4 separate regions of the Homo sapiens genome follow, and regions 1, 2 and 3 are each linked to region 4. The links are contacts of gene promoters, found by promoter capture Hi-C in human tissues and cell types (Jung and others, 2019). All regions are on one chromosome and are shown on one strand. The core of a region is centred on a gene start or on the middle of the fragment in contact, and the rest is flanking DNA. Distances in the headings are between cores, read along the strand shown. Region 1 has its middle 29 kb from the start of CABCOCO1. Region 2 has its middle 92 kb from the start of NRBF2. Region 3 has its middle 98 kb from the start of LINC02625. Region 4 holds the start of ZNF365 (zinc finger protein 365).

The links. The method cuts DNA at HindIII sites, captures the fragments that hold promoters and counts their contacts. A contact is called where the count stands out against the background at its distance.
Region 1: a fragment that was not itself captured here is called in contact with the fragment with the promoter of ZNF365 in region 4 in 1 of the 25 tissues and cell types used here (hippocampus).
Region 2: a fragment that was not itself captured here is called in contact with the fragment with the promoter of ZNF365 in region 4 in 2 of the 25 tissues and cell types used here (IMR-90 fibroblasts and spleen).
Region 3: a fragment that was not itself captured here is called in contact with the fragment with the promoter of ZNF365 in region 4 in 1 of the 25 tissues and cell types used here (spleen).

Annotation. Positions count from the first base shown.
Region 1 is chr10:61,632,069-61,635,887 of GRCh38, forward strand. No RefSeq gene overlaps it. Among named protein-coding and RNA genes, the nearest start is that of CABCOCO1, 29 kb to the right of the region's middle. The HindIII fragment of the contact is 7,774 bases long and covers 1-3,819 here.
Region 2 is chr10:63,039,641-63,043,582 of GRCh38, forward strand. No RefSeq gene overlaps it. Among named protein-coding and RNA genes, the nearest start is that of NRBF2, 92 kb to the right of the region's middle. The HindIII fragment of the contact is 5,835 bases long and covers 1-3,942 here.
Region 3 is chr10:61,767,954-61,772,101 of GRCh38, forward strand. No RefSeq gene overlaps it. Among named protein-coding and RNA genes, the nearest start is that of LINC02625, 98 kb to the right of the region's middle. The HindIII fragment of the contact is 4,332 bases long and covers 1-3,476 here.
Region 4 is chr10:62,372,761-62,376,996 of GRCh38, forward strand. It overlaps ZNF365 (zinc finger protein 365), which reads left to right and starts at 1,609. Exons shown (of 5, transcript NM_014951.3): 1 at 1,609-1,698; 2 at 3,421-4,176. The coding sequence starts at 3,434. LOC283045 (a long non-coding RNA gene) reads right to left here and starts at 2,367. Exons shown (of 4, transcript NR_104162.1): 1 at 2,111-2,367. The HindIII fragment of the contact is 5,251 bases long and covers 1-3,722 here.

The DNA.
Region 1 (3,819 bases), core at 802-3,301, 740 kb before region 4:
AATAAATACAAAAATTAGCGGGCGTGGTGGCATGTGCCTGTAGTCCCAGCTACTAGGGAGGCTGAGGCAGGAGAATCTCTTGAACCCAGGAGGCAGAGGTTGCAGTGAGCTGAGATCGAGCCACTGCACTCCAGCCTGGGCGACAGAGAGAGAGTCCATCTCAGAAATAAATAAATAAATAAATAAATAAATAAATAAATAAATAAATAAATAAAGTTGAACCAGTTACTGTCCTAAACTGTTAGATGTATGCTGGCATCCCTGCCCTTCCTTTCTTACCTTTGGCTGCCTCTGGCTATTTTCCCTGCTTATAGGCAGCCTCTTTCTTAGCTCAGTGCAGTACAAGTGTTAAATGCCTCATTAGCACTTTTTTTTTTTTTTTTTAGTGACTCAGAACAGTAGATGCCCTCAGGTGGCTCCTAAGACCAAAGGCACAGCTCAGGCTGTGGCAATAGAGCAGGAGCCTATGTGGACTCTGGACTCTCACATTTGTGCAAAACCCAAGAAGACTGCCACTTTCCTTCTGTCCTAGCTCTTCCAAAAGCCTTCATTTGGGGCTTTACCCAGCTTCCAAGTTGTACAACCTACCTTTTTTTTTTTAACTTTTCAAGGCCAAAATATATTCTGTACGCACTGTTTAAAATAAATTACAGCTTTAAACATTCAACGGAGTATCTCTGTAGCTTTCTAGTTGTTCAAAATAAAATTAAGTAGACATGCAAAAATAAAAGGGATTTTAAGGGAAAAAAATACTCATTGCTGTAATTTGTCTCCTAAATAATGACAATAGATGAGCTATAGCCTCTTTTGTCTGAAATTTCAGCTGTCTTTGTTTACTTCATGACACAGGGCCCAAGACCTACATTATTGCATTAAGTTTGCAAAGCTATCAAGATGCCCTTGAGTAAGATTCATCATCTTGTCCTAAATTCTCCACACGCTCCACTAAAAGCCTAGTGGCAGACTGAAGGGATTGTCAGAAAGCATAAAAGACAAAATAAAAATTTTATGCTCTTTTAGGCAAGTGAAGATTTACCCTGTAGCAATTTCTGATATTAACTCATTAATCCTCACAACCTATCTTGAGGATAGATTTTAGAAAGGAACAGCCCTTGTCATCTTACTTGCCTTCAAAACTTGTACCAAACAGAGAGCTGGTTCTTTCCTTGGTCTTGGTCTGAACATCTCTGCAGAGCCCAGGAGGAGTGGGAGAGAGGGACAGATGGAATTCAGAAGCACCTCTCTGACTCCCTTCTTCTCTTATTACCAGGACAGGTCATCATGTGGAACCCCATGCTGGGTCTAAAACTTTTGGTCGCCATCTTGAAATCCTTAATGAATGGTGATCAAGGACTCCTGCATTTCCATTTTTCACTGGGCCCCACAAATTAGTAGCCAGTCCTGCTGTCACTCATCCCAGAATAAAAGATATCAGTAGTATAGCATGTGGGCCAACACATGTTCCCTTGATCTCCACACTGATGGTAACAATATAGTAGCAAAGTCCATATTTCTCATTAGTACTGTAGTTTTTCTCTGCTTGTACAAAATTGAATTGGGCTATGTGCTTAGAATTTTATCTAAAACATAAGACAAGATATCAGTTTGCCTTCTTAAGTCTATTTATGTTACATTTACTTCATGTTTTCTTGGTTTGCAGTCCTGATTAATTTACCTTATAGTGTGTTTAATTATTGCCATATAATCCCATAACTTCTTTGCATGTGGCATCTCAACAATGTGCAACTTCTAATAGTCAGCATGAAATCATAACTTAGAAAAACATTGCTGAGCTAATTACAGGGACAATCAAAATAAATCCAAATCTTTTCTGGGCCACAGTCCATATCTGAATCATAATAAGTGTGAAATGTTTACAAATCATTACAAATTTTCCACATAGTTTTGCTCAGCGTTAGGACCAGTCGTGTTTTTTCAGTCATTTGAGTCGATGTTTCAGATCTCTCCAGTGAGAACACTGATTTTAGAAAACACTCAGCTTATTAGCAATTATAAAAATCAAAAGACAGATGTAAAATCAACTCTAAAATCTAGAATGTAAGAAACATCTTCATGGAATTATTTGTGTACCAGCATAAACATGATATATTATGTATTTTTAAAAAATAACACTTCACTGAAGTTATAAAGGCAAAAAAATGGAAGGAAACTAGCCAGGCACTTTAACTACTTTGTGTATTCCAGTGAATTCACATATTAAGAAAACTTTATTTAGAAGCCTAAAAATTGTACAATAATGAAGTAGTTTGTGTATGACAAAAATAACCGGGAATCATTTAATAAGTACTTGCCCATTATTGCTTTTATAACATTGGAATTGAGCTGCTAGCTCTGCATAATTTTAAGACTGACTTTTCATTAATTTATATAAGACTCATTGTACCTACTATGTGTAAGGCATTAGAAGAATCCATTGATGCTACATTTTTCTTACTCCTTCTTAGGTTCTTATTCCTGTTAGATTAAACTACTAGAAATATATTTTGGGGAACATTGAACTCAGGTCTTTCAAATCACATCTTTGCCAGTAAGAAGCCAGATATTAAATTTTAAAATTCAAGGAAGGCGGGCTGCATTTTGCATTCTGATAAAAAATGGTTTATATTTACTTAGGTCTAAAAATGAGCTGTAGGGAGTACATGAACCCCCAAAACGCTATACAAAATTTGGGGTGGAAAAGCAGTTTTCTGGTATGAGTATTTGTGTCTTTCATCTGACTCAAAAAAATCCATGGCTCCAAGTACTAACAGACTGTCCAAAATACTGCATTCTTCTAGGGAACTCAGTCACTATCATGAGACTCATTGGTGCACTCAAAAACCACAAAGTCCAAAATAATTTTGTATTCTGAAAGTTCTCTGAGAGTTTACGGTTGCATCACTTTGTTGTACTTGGTATCATTTGGTTCTGTGATTATTTTCCTGTCAGTGAGGTATATATTCTCCATGGGGATGCAAACCACTTTGGAGCCATAATTATTTTTAGTCTACTGCAGCTTGGATAAACACTGTATCCTCAGACATTTGTGAAGTATCATCTGTAAATGCTTGAAGGATGCCAGAATTGAGAGCATACATTTCCTTGATAGCAACAAAAAAATAATTTCCAACTTGACTAATATTTTGTTAAATAATATGTGGGAAAATAAGAAGGATTACATGTTGATAATGCTGTAATTTGCTAAAAGTAGAAAATGTGGTTTTGGCCAAAATGATTCCAATGAATCCATTACAGTCTCATTTCTATCTTGCTTAATAAGACTTTTTTCTGAAGATGAAAATTCAGTTACATGATAATACAAAATAATGCCAGTAATTTGTCTTTGGTTTCAAAGCTTCAAATACCACACTCCAGATTCAGAATTGCTCAGAATGTGCTATATTTATTATAATTAATCTAGACCTCCTGTCCAAGAATAGCAAACTCTTCTGTGGGTCACTGCTTTGGGAAGAGATTGAGAAAGTTTGAGTACAAATAGATGTAATTCTTTAAATACCTCCATGCTAATATACTATGTTCATAATGACTTTTAATCAGTGTACAGGAAAATAATTCGATGTTATATAAAATAGAGAGCTGAGGTCACATCTAACACGAGACCTCAAATTTGGAACACACCAGTAGCTTTGGGAATATGTAGTGCATATTTTGGCCTACTTTTATCCATTGTCCTTCTCTCTGAGTAAGCATTCCCTAATCTCCTTTTGTGTGTCCTTGCTTCTCCAACATAGTATTTAGCACAGGAAAAGCTGACTCTATTCTCCACACCAGAAATGGATTCTGGCTAACCAATTAACA
Region 2 (3,942 bases), core at 453-2,952, 670 kb after region 4:
GATCTCTTGATGCCAGGAGCTCAAGACCAGCCTGGCCAACATGGTGAAACCCCGTCTCTACTAGAAGTATAAAAATTAGCTAGGTATGGTGCCGCACACCTGTAATCCCAGCTACTCAGGTTGCTGAGGGATGAGAATTGCTTGAACCTGGGAGGTGGAGGTTGCAGTGAGCCAAGATTGTGCCACTGCACTCCAGCCTGGGTGACACGTGAGACTCTGTCTCTAAAAGAAAAAAGGAAAGTTGCAAAATCAACATCAACCAACAAGATCTAAACATTATAGAGCACATTATAGCAGAATACGAATACTTTTCAAGTGCTCACAGAACATATACCATAAGATAGCCCTTATCCTGGGCCATAAAACAAACCTCCAAACATTTAAAAGAATTGCAATCATACAGTGTGCTCTCTGACAATAATGGAATCAAACTAGAAATCAGTAACAGAATGATAAAAGGAAAACTTGCAAACACTTAAAAACCAAACAACACACTTTTAAAAAAGACATGAGGTCAAAGAGGATCAAAGAGGAGGTTCAGGGGAATTTTTTTTAAGTATATTGAAATGAATGAAAATGAGAATACAGCATATGAAAATTTGCGCTAAAGCAGTGTTAAGAGAGAAATTTATTTAATGTATGCACTAAATGCATACATTTAAGAAGACAGAAACATTACAAATCAATAATCTAAGCTCCCAACTCAAAAACTTAGAGTAAGTAGAGCAAAATAAACCCAAAGCAAACAGAAAAAAGAAAATAATAAAGATTTATCAAGCGGAGTCCCATGGATGGAAAAAAAAAGATTTAAATTGTTTTTAAAAAAAGAAAATAATAAAGATAAAAGAAGAAATTAATGAAATGGAAAGCAGAAAAACAAGAGAAAATTGATTTTAAAAATAACTGGTTAATTGAAAAAAGCTGTAAAATCTCTAGCAAGATTAACAAAGAATAAAAGAGGACAGAAATTGCTAACTTAGGAAGTAAACAGAGTATATCACTAAAGACTACGCAGAAATCAAAGGAGTAATAAGGGAATATTAAGAATAACACTATACACATATATTTGACAACTTAGACCAAAAAATGATTTGTTTTTTTTTTTTTTTTTTGAGGTCTCACTCTGCCACCCAGGCTGGAGTGCAGTCGTGCAAACATAATTCACTGCAGCCTTGAACTCCCAGGCTCAAGTGATCCTCCCTCCTCAGTCTCCCAAATAGCTGAGACTACAACCGTGGACCACCATACCTGGCTAATTTTTGTATTTTTTTTGTAGAGACAGGGTCTCTCCATATTGCCCAGGCTTGTCTCAAACTCCTGGGCTCAAGCAATCCACCAACCTCAGCCTCCCAAAGTGCTGGGATTACAGGCATGAGCCACCACACTCTGCCAAAATGGACCTTTTTTTTTTTTTTCAATTAAAGACACTACAAATCGCTCAATATGAAATAGATGATATGAATAGCCGTATAACTATTAAGAAAGTTTAATTCATAATTTTAAAACTCCCAAAAAAGAAATATCCAGACACAGATGGTTTCACTGGAAATTCCAATCTTGTGCATCCCCAAGAGAAACGAAAATTTATTTTCACACAAAAACCTGTACATGAATGTTTATAGCAGGTTTATCCATAATAGCCAAAACTGGAAACAACTCAGCTGTCTTTAACGAATAAATGGTTAAACAAACTGCAGTATATTCATATCATGGAATACTTCTCAGCAATTTGAAGAAACCAACTACGGATGCACACAATATTTTGAATGAATATCCAGAGAATTATATTCAGTGAAAAAGAAGCCAAACCAAAATGTTACATACTATATTATTTCATTTATGTAACATTCTTCAAAAGACAATACTTTAGAAATAGAGAAAAAATAGTAATTGCCAGGGGTTAGGGATACGGAGGGAGTAGGAGGGAAGTGGGTGTATCTATAAAATAACAACATGAAAGATTCCTGTGGTGATAGAAATGTTCGGTATCTTGACTGTATTAATATCAGTATCTTTGTTGTGATTATTGTACTATGGTTTTGCAAGACAGTACCATTGGGAAAAACTGGGTAAAATTTACACAGAATCTCTGTATTATTTCTTATAATTGCCTGTAAATCTGTCTAAAATTGTCTCAAAATGAAAAGGTTAATTTGTTTAAATGTACATAACTTATAATTCCACTTACATGAAGCTTTAGAATAGGTAAAATTAGCCTATGGTGATATAAATCACATCAATTATTGTGGATGGGAGAGATTAATGGACTGGGAAGAGGCACAAGGGAACTTTCTGTTTTTCAGGAAAAACAAATGAATATTGGTAATAACAATTTATTTATGAGCTTTGTGGCATTTTATCTTTCCCTAGACCCATCCCTCACTCCCCAGTTAAGCAATATCCTTAAGAATAATATACCATATACTTGGTAATATAAAGAACAGACAGACCTCACTTGAAAAGAATTCTCTTTATTCGATCTGTCTGATGGCTTCCTGAAAGACCCACTCAAAAGGCTTATCTTTATTTTGCCTAATTTGGTAACTAAATGCTAAATCCACTACCCAAAGGCCATTTGTCAAAAATATTTCCAGGCAAATATTTTAGTTGCTGCTGCCTGAGACAATGGATAACATTTGTAGCAAACCACACACTAACCAAAATCTTGAGAAGAAAGGCAGGGGAATGAGATTTACGTATGGGCTTTGATTACTCCTGGAAATCTAAAAGGCCACATGCCACTCAGGGCAATGTACATACTCAGCAAAGACCAGAGAAAGCCCTAAGACCTTATCTCTGAATGACGTCATGGCTCTGCGCAAGCAGGAAGTGAAGGCAAATGCAGAGTTATCAATTGCCTGGCTGAGTGTTGGAAGGCATGCCCCAAAACATACACGTGGCCCTTCCACAAAGTCTGGAAGATTTTTAAATTCCATGCCTCTAAGGCAACTGTTCTCTCATTAGCTGACCACTAAGCTAATAGAATAGAGACAGCATTGGCCACACATAACAGAAAACACAGACTGTATAGACTTGGTTTAGTAAAGTCACTAAACAAAACAACTACAACTGCAACAAGCAGCACCAAAAATAAACCTTGAGAAGGAGGTAGAATCTGATTTCCAGAGTTGCCACATTATATTATTCAAAATATCCAGCTTTCAACAAAGAAAAACAATGATGAGGCGTTCAAAGGAACAGGAAGGTATGGCTCACAAACAGGAAAAAAAAAAAAAAGAAATCAGTAAAAATTGTGGAAAAGAAAGTCTGGCCCATATACAGAAAAAAAAAAATCAGTAAAAATTATATCTGAGAAAACCCAGCCAGGCGCAGTGGCTCACACCTGTAATCCCAGCACTTTGGGAAGCTGAGGCAGGCGGATCACGAGGTCAGGAGATCGAGACCATCCTGGCTAACACGGTGAACCCCCGTCTCTACTAAAAATACAAAAATTAGCCAGGTGTGGTGGTGCGTGCCTGTAGTCCCAGCTACTCAGGAGGCTGAGGCAGGAGAATGGCGTGAACCCAGGAGGCAGAGCTTGCAGTGAGCTGAGATCGTGCCACTGCACTCCAGCCTGGGCAACAGAGCAAGACTCCTTCTCAAAAAAAAAAAAAGAAAACCCAAATGCTGGGTTTCCTAGCCAAGGAACTTAAACCAGCTATTTTAAATATGTTCAAAGAGCTAAAGGAAACCGTGTCTAAAAAACTAAAAGTATAATGATGCCTGATAAAATAGAGAATATCACTAAAGAGATACAAATTATTTAAGAAATAAACAAAGTTGAAAATGTGATAACTGAAGTGAAAATTTCATTAGAAAGACTCATCAGCATATTCAGGCAGGAAGAAGGAAGATTCCATGAACTTTAAGGTAGATCAGTTAATATTATCTTGTTTAAGGAACAGAAAGAATAAAGAAGATTGAACAGAGCCTCAGAGATCT
Region 3 (4,148 bases), core at 61-2,560, 610 kb before region 4:
ATTTTTTGCCCATTCGAACAATTGGATACATGCATAAGTGGTCTTTTTTTACACAATTAATATTGCTGTTTACATTCCTTTTTCATCAAGTAATATATCTGAGAGATAATTCCCTATCAGTACATTTTAACAACCATGTAATATTTATCAGTTTCACGATTTTTTGATGGGTCCTCCTGCTGAACTTTTTTGTTTCCAGCAGTTTGTTATCACCATGCTGTATCGCCACCCTTGCGCACACATCTTTGTGAATGTGTATAATTATACCTGTAGGTCAAAACTCTAGAAGCGGAATTCCTAGGTCCAGTTGTATGTGCGTTCCAATATTCTTAGATATTGTCAAAGATATTTCACCATTTTGTATGCCCACCAACAGTGTATAAGAATACCTCTTTCTCTACATTTTACCAACAACGTACATTAGTCAATTTTTTGTCTTTGATATTCTGATAGAAAATAATGTCATGCTACTGCTTTAATTTGCTTTTATTGTTTTACTCCACATGGGTTGAACACCTTTTCATATGTTTATAAGAAAATATATATATATATTCATGTAACATATATAATGTGTGATGATAATATATATATTATGGTTATTAGGAAGACTATATTCATTTAGTCTTCCTAATAACCGAGAGAGAGAGAGAGACAGAGAGAGAGAGAGAGATGATAGGTAGATACTATTAGCCTTTAATAGTTAGCCTCATTTTATAGTTATGGAGCCTGAAGCTTAGAGGGATTATTAACCTAAACCAAGTTACACATTTAATAATTGGTGGGACGGGGCTTCCAAACCAAGTCTGACCTATTTTACAGATGACGAAACTGGAATACAGAGAAAGTTTAGGTAACTCTCCATGATCGTACTGCCAGTAGGTGGTAGAATTAACTTTGGAACTTGGGCCTGTACGATCACAAAACCCACGTGCTTAACCTTTATCTTCATCTGGCCATCTCATAGTTGACATGAAATCAAGGGAAAGCTAACCTTTCCTTTTCCTTATTATATAATAATATTATTAGAATAAGCAAGTTTGTTGTTGTTCCCTTATTACTATAGTAAGGGAACAAACTTGCTTATGCTAATGAGTGTATTAAGTTTTTGGAAAATGTATCCAAGGATAGAATACATAACTCATTTCCATTCATCTATTCATGTATTATGTATTTGTTGAGCACCTTCTATGTGCCTGGGCATTTAGTGGTGAGCCAAATAGACATGGTATCTGCCCTAATAATTTAGTGGGGGCAGTTAATAGTAACTGTGGTAAAGACAAGCTCAGGGAGTTAGGAGAATATAAGGCAAAGGAGCTTGGTGGCATCTAAGAGGTCAGAGAAGCTTCCTATGGGTAACTTCAGGGCTGGGCCCAAGAAGTAAAATTTAACCAGAGGGAAGGTGAAGGAAGATGTGTTTCTGACAGAAGGAGGCATGTGCCAAGTCCTTGGGACACAAGCTGAAGCTGAACAATTGTCCAGAGCCAACGTTGTTGTGGGGTTGTGGACCATATTACAGATTTTTATTTTTATTTTTTATTTTTATTTTTATTTTATTTATTTATTTATTTATTTCGAGACGGAGTCTCGCTGTCGCCCAGGCTGGAGTGCAGTGGCGCCATCTCGGCTCACTGCAAGCTCTGCCTCCCTGGTTCACGTCATTCTCCTGCCTCAGCATCCTGAGTAGCTGGGACTACAGGCGCCCGCCACCATGCCCAGCTAATTTTTTTGTATTTTTAGTAGAGACGGGGTTTCACGGTGTTAGCCAGGATGGTCTCGATCTCCTGACCTCGTGATCCGCCCGCCTCAGCCTCCCAAAGTGCTGGGATTACAGGCGTGAGCCACCGCACCTGGGCACAGATTTTTATTTTTAACTTAAAAACAATGACTCATTGTTGACAAACGTTACGTAGCAAGTGACATCAGATTTATGTTTTTAAAAAGGTCATCTCTCTAGTACCAAGACTTCTATCTATGGAGACCTGGAAAAGGGAATATTCTTATAAAAAGAGTCCTACTGCTAATGATGTCATAGCACCACTTCATAGCAGTTTCTAAGAGAGGGAGAAATAAAGAAAATGTTTGACTTTTTTAAAGTGACAGAGTCCACCTACTCTAAGTAGTCTTTGGCATAACGGTTGCCCTCTGAAGAGCCAATTTAAAAATAATACCAACCTATCACTTAGGAGAAGCTTTACTGTCATCATCCACAATAAAGTATGTTTCTTCCATTTGCAGGAATAATTTGGAAAACTTTTTGCATAGATCCCATGATAAGTTTCAAAGAGCAAATATATTCATTATGTTATAAACAAGCCACAGACTACCACTATTTCAGGTATTTGCAGGCACTATTGTGCCTTAATATAACTGTGGAGTCATTTTTCCAAAATCTGAATATAAAGCCTCTATTTCTATCCTTCATTTGATTGGAACCATTCAATCATCCTGGTAGATAATAAGTTTGCATGTTCTTAGATTGCATTTCATTATGCTTCCGTTCCCCTAGAAAATAAATGTGCTCCTTTTCCCAACAATTGTAGAGGAGAAATACTTCTGACATCTCAAATTTCAGCCTCTGGAAGACGTCCCTCTTCTGGACATGAAAGTCATTTGTTTCCTGGACATTCATCTGTTAAATAAGAGAAGTCAAGACCCCCTCATGACAGCCATAATACCTATTAATTTAAGTTTCCAAAGAAAGATGAATCCAGATCAAAATAATTCCATCCAGATCAAAGTAATTCCAAACCAAAGAGAGAATACTAAAAATTCCTTTCGCTTTCAGGATGACTTTCCTTTTCACAGAAGAACCTGCAGTGAAGAAGATTGGTTTATCGTATTTTATTTGTCAGAGCTGCCAAAGTGTTTTATGTTAATATAATTTTTAGCTTCAGAGAATGTTCATTGAAAATGTCTTCGATGGTCATTTTGGTGTTTGTTTCTTCCTTTTAATCTAGCTTGTAATTTATTCTGGGCGTTCTAAGTACCAGAATGAAAGAAGACAATTAAGGTCCTTGACTTGAGGGAGTCCATGGAATTAATGACGTTTATAATCTAGAGACAGATGACACACAAGTGAATATTCTTTTTCAAAAGAACATGCAGAATTATAACCACAAAATGCTTAGAAGGATAATCCTCAAACCCAGATAAACCCACCTATTGAAATAATTTTGGTCCAAATCTTCTTTGCAGAATTCCAAATAAATTATATGGATACTCCACTCAAAGGAGGAGGAGTATAACTCCACTGATGTATGGGCTGTACATACAGACTTCCAAAGAATATAGTATGGAAAAAGTAATGCTTTCATAGTTGAGAAACCTGACAAACACTGCTTCAGCCAGGTGATCAAGGTCAACATCAACAGTCAATAAATCATGTTAATGCATGTACCCTTGATATGAGGTGAAAATGGTGAAGATCTCTGCGATCTTCATGCCAAAAACTTAAAACCCCAGTCTAATCGTGATGAAAACATCAGGCAAATTCCAGTGAAGGAACAGTCTATACCTGATTAGTACTCCTCAAAACTGCCAAAATCATCAAAACAAGGAAAGTGTAAGAAAATGTCACAGCAAAGAGGAGCGTAAAGAGAATGACAACAATTGTAGTAAGGTATCCTGGATGGGATTCTGGAACAGAAAAGGGAAATCTTAAAAAATATGAATAAACTATGAAACTCAATTAATAAAAATGTGTCAATAGTAGTTCATCAGTTGCACCAAATGTACTATACTAATGTAAGATTAATAATAATACTAACAGGAAACTGTGTGCAGTGGTGGAGTGGGGACTGTATAGGGGAATTCTGTACTATCTGCTCAATTATTCTACAAATCTACAACTTTTCTAAAAAAATCTAAAACTGTTTTAAAAGAATAAAATCTATTAATTTTTAAAAAAGAATATTAGTCAAAACAAAATTAATTAGAAGAAAAAATGCCCACAGTCAGATGTCACTATTAATAAAATGATACCCCCTTGTAAATGTCACATGAAAAATCAAATATAGTCAACTTGCAAATTAGAAAAAATATACTCAGAAAAAACAGAAAGTAATATATCCCATTTTAAAAGGGTAATTGTAATTTTCATCTGTTCTGGGCCTCTTCATACCTTCTTACTTCCATAGTAGAATTCGAAA
Region 4 (4,236 bases), core at 359-2,858:
GGCACCTCACAAGATGACGGAGATAACTTGGCACTCCAATGAGTGTATCTTTCAGACTTTAAGATTTTGTACTAAATAAATTGATTCTTGGAATAGTCTTGAGAGCGAGTCAAAAAGTAACTTCAATGAGATATAATATTTTCAAAGCAAACACACCCCAGCACAATAGCCTATCTCCATTTACGTAGAAGTTAGTACATATTAATTCCTCTTCTCCTTCCTGCTTTTTAAATGTGTGTAGGCCCCTTTTTTATGGAATTAATAATAATTATAAATGAAGTAGCAACAACGATAACAGCTGACTTTATCAGTGTGTGTCCCTGTCAGGCAGGGTTTTTACCTCCATCATCATAGCACATTCGATCCACCGCTATATTAAGAGGTAGGTCTTGATTATCTTCATTTCATAGATGAGGAATTGAAGGAACAGAAAAGTCTAGTTACTTGACCCAGGCCCTAGAACCAGGATTTGAATCAAGTCTGATGCCAGAGCTTGGGATCTTCATTGCATTTGATGTGATAATTCATTTGTGAAAAAACAAAGCAATTCATTTGTTTTCATTTGTCAAAAACAAAACAAAATTTCAACTAAGATAACTGTTGAGCTCTTTACCGTTAAAATAAAATCGGGTGTTGAAATGAGTAACAGCAAGCCTTGAGAAAAGACACCCTGAGAAGTCAAGAGGATGCATTAACTGTCTACAGATGAACAGAATCTCTTCTCTTCTTTGAACAAGAAAACCCAGCAGTAACTTTTATCTAGGTTTCACATTTCAGGAGTTACAGTAGGGGTAAACCAAAACAGGTTAAAAAAAAAAAAAAAAAAAAAAAAAAGCAAAAGCCCAGCAAGCTGAGACATCAGAGTCCTTCAGAAGGAATGATTTGCCGTCTTCTCTTCAGGACATCCCCTCTTTAGGAGGACAAATTTTTTCTCCAGGGAAAGGGGCGTCCGCCTCAGAAATGGGGGTGTAGGTGAGGGATCTTGTTGCTTTAACTGTTTGTTCATTAATCCCTGCACTTTACTAGATTTAGTTCTGCCTGTTAACGTAGCCTCAGGACACTTGGCTAGGAAGGCTGGAGTGTACTCTCTGGGTTAGTTATTTTGGGACATTCTCGCCCTGCTGCTTGGGATGAAGAGGTCCTAATTAAATACCCGGACCTTCCAACGGGTAGATTTTCAAAGAAGATGCCCAGCTATGCTGCATCCTCATCCACACTCTCCCGCTCCCCCCAAACTAGTGCAAAAAAGCTTGCCAGGGCCTGCAGAAAGCGCCGCGACTGCGAGGCTGACACGCGTCTTTCCTTCCCTCCCCCGGGGAATGATCCCAGCATCTCTCGCAGTGATGTCAGTGTAATCCTGAGTCGGATCGGGCTCCCGGCTGGGTGGCGGGGGGGCAGATGATGCTCCCGCCAGCTGGGCAGAGCAAGGGTGTTCCCCGCGGAGGTGGCAGCCCTGGGCCGCGGCGTTCCGGAACCCCCGCACCCACGGCGCGGTGCCCCACGGTGCCCGCGAGCGCCGCCCCCGCTGGCTAGCCGCGCCTCGCTCCGCCCTGGACGCCGCCGGTCCCGGCGCGGAGGTGCGGCGGGGAGTGGGAGCCGGCCCGGCTCAGTCTGATTTACGGCTCTGCTGAAAACCGCTTCGCTCCCGCAGCATCAGCACCGGAGGCGGCGGCTGCAGCAGCAGCAGCAACAAGTCGGGTAAGAGGCGGCCGCCGGCCATCTGCGCCCGCGGCTCGGCGGAGGGGACCTGCCGGGGTGGCCGGGGCTGGGGAGGGGGTCCCCGAGCCCGCAGCATGGCGGGGAGTTGGGAGAGCCGGCTTCCCGGCCCCCACCAGCAGGAACTCATGTGCACACGAATCCACTCTGGCACCCGTGGGCTGGCACGCAGCGGAGAGGGGGCGGGGAGAGCTGGGACCCCGGGGCAGGGTCATTGCCAGCCTGCCCTTCTCTGGCAGAGTCACTTAGGGCTCTTCATCAGCCCAGTGGACTGGGTTTCCTCTGGGCCCATAAAAGCCTGCGTGCTCTGGAGTGTGTGATTACCCATTTCCCCATCCAAAATGCCACCCTTTTCCCATTGCCCCCTTAGAATCCTGACTTCCCCTTTCCTTACCTCTTGTCAGCGTCTTTGGCCCTATGCTGAGCCAGGGTTTGCATCTCGTTCCCAGAAAACCAGTGGTTAAACATCCCGGTGTACCCATCACAGGAAGAGGTTCCCCTCTCTGGGGGCCGGGGGCTTCACCTAGAAGCCTTGCCTGCCTCGCTGCCTGGGGACCATTTGCACCTCTGCTTTTGAAGAGGTTGAGGACACTTTTCACCCAAAGACCCCAGCTGGGCTCCCTCATTTCGGGTCCAATGCTTGTTACATTTAAGTAGAAACCTTTCATGGAGGAATAGAAGATATGCACTGCTTGCAGAATTGGGTTGCCAACAGTCATCTGTTGCTAGGGTGAAGATAATGCATTCCTACAAGGAAACCAGAACTTCCTGTTATTAAGAGAGTATGCTGATACCTACCTGGTTCACACACTGACCATCCCTAGAGGTTGTCATATAAAATAGCATCTGAGACAAGACAAATCCGTCCAGAACACTCTATTATAATAAAAATCTTGGCCATGGCCCCACTTATGCCAAATGGTATTTGACACATTGGGTCCCCAGGTTTCAGTGAAACTCACGTATGGGGTCTGTTATTGTTACGATTAGCACTTTGGTTTATGTCATCACAGCAATACCTGAAGGAAAAAAAGGCAAAAATTTCAGGGTGAAAAATTTTCAGCTGATTGCAGGCTTAATGCCACTGTGCATAGCTTGAGTAATCTTTCCTGTACTTGAGGATAGGTCCTGAGCTTGCTGTCTTAGGACCCATTTTGACAATTCATGTGAGTTTTCATATGTTCTTGTGTTCACGCATCTCGGATTGTATCCTTAAAATGGGGCACGGTTTTGCATTTAGTGTGCCAAATTCAGGAGGGGAGGAAACTTGAATTCCACTTCTGGATCTACCACTTTCCATCTGACCTTGGATTAATGGCTTTACTTCCTTGCTTCAGTGTTCTCTTCTGTGGAGAGGGAATGTTACCCACCTTTTTGATTCTAGGTAGGAGTTGGCAAACTTTTTCTGTAAAGGTAGTAAATATTTTAGCTTTTAGGAGCATAGAGTCTCTGTCTCAGTTACTCACCACTGCCATTGTGGTTTACAATAAATAATACAGAAATTGATACGGCAGCAGTAAATAATGCAGAAATTGATGTGGATGGATTTGGCCCATGGGCTGTAGGTTTTAAGTGCAACATAAAATATTATGTGCAAAAGTCACTTGAAACCAAAAAGCCTCTGCTGTCATGGAGATGAGCAGCAATCATTTTAGTAGTGTGTTTTTCAGCCGACTTGTAAACTACCTATTTCCCCCCTCCCAGGACTTTTAGAGTAATGCAACAGAAGGCTTTTGAGGAAAGCAGATATCCCTGGCAGGAGTCCTTTGAGAATGTTGCTGTGTGCCTGCCATTACGCTGCCCGAGGTGTGGAGACCATACCAGATTTAGAAGCTTGTCATCCTTGAGGGCCCATCTGGAGTTCAGTCACAGCTACGAAGAAAGAACCCTCTTGACAAAATGCAGTCTCTTTCCATCCCTCAAAGACACAGACCTAGTCACTTCCTCAGAACTCCTGAAACCGGGAAAATTGCAGAGCAGTGGCAACGTGGTAAAGCAGAAACCGAGCTATGTTAACTTGTACAGCATTTCACATGAACATTCCAAGGACAGGAAGCCATTTGAGGTGGTGGCAGAGAGGCCTGTGTCCTATGTGCAGACCTACACTGCCATGGACCTCCATGCAGACTCGCTGGATGGGACACGGTCGGGTCCTGGACTGCCCACCTCAGACACCAAAGCTTCTTTCGAGGCACATGTCAGAGAAAAATTCAATCGAATGGTTGAGGCTGTGGATAGGACCATTGAGAAGAGAATTGATAAACTCACCAAAGAGTTGGCCCAGAAAACTGCGGAACTGTTGGAAGTTCGGGCAGCTTTTGTGCAGCTGACTCAGAAAAAGCAGGAAGTTCAGAGACGAGAGCGGGCCTTAAACAGACAGGTGGACGTGGCCGTGGAAATGATAGCTGTACTGAGGCAACGCCTGACGGAATCTGAGGAGGAGCTTCTTAGGAAAGAAGAGTAAGTGTTGCTGACAGGGGATGCTAACCCCATTGCTTTAAGCAGCACCCCAATCGCCTT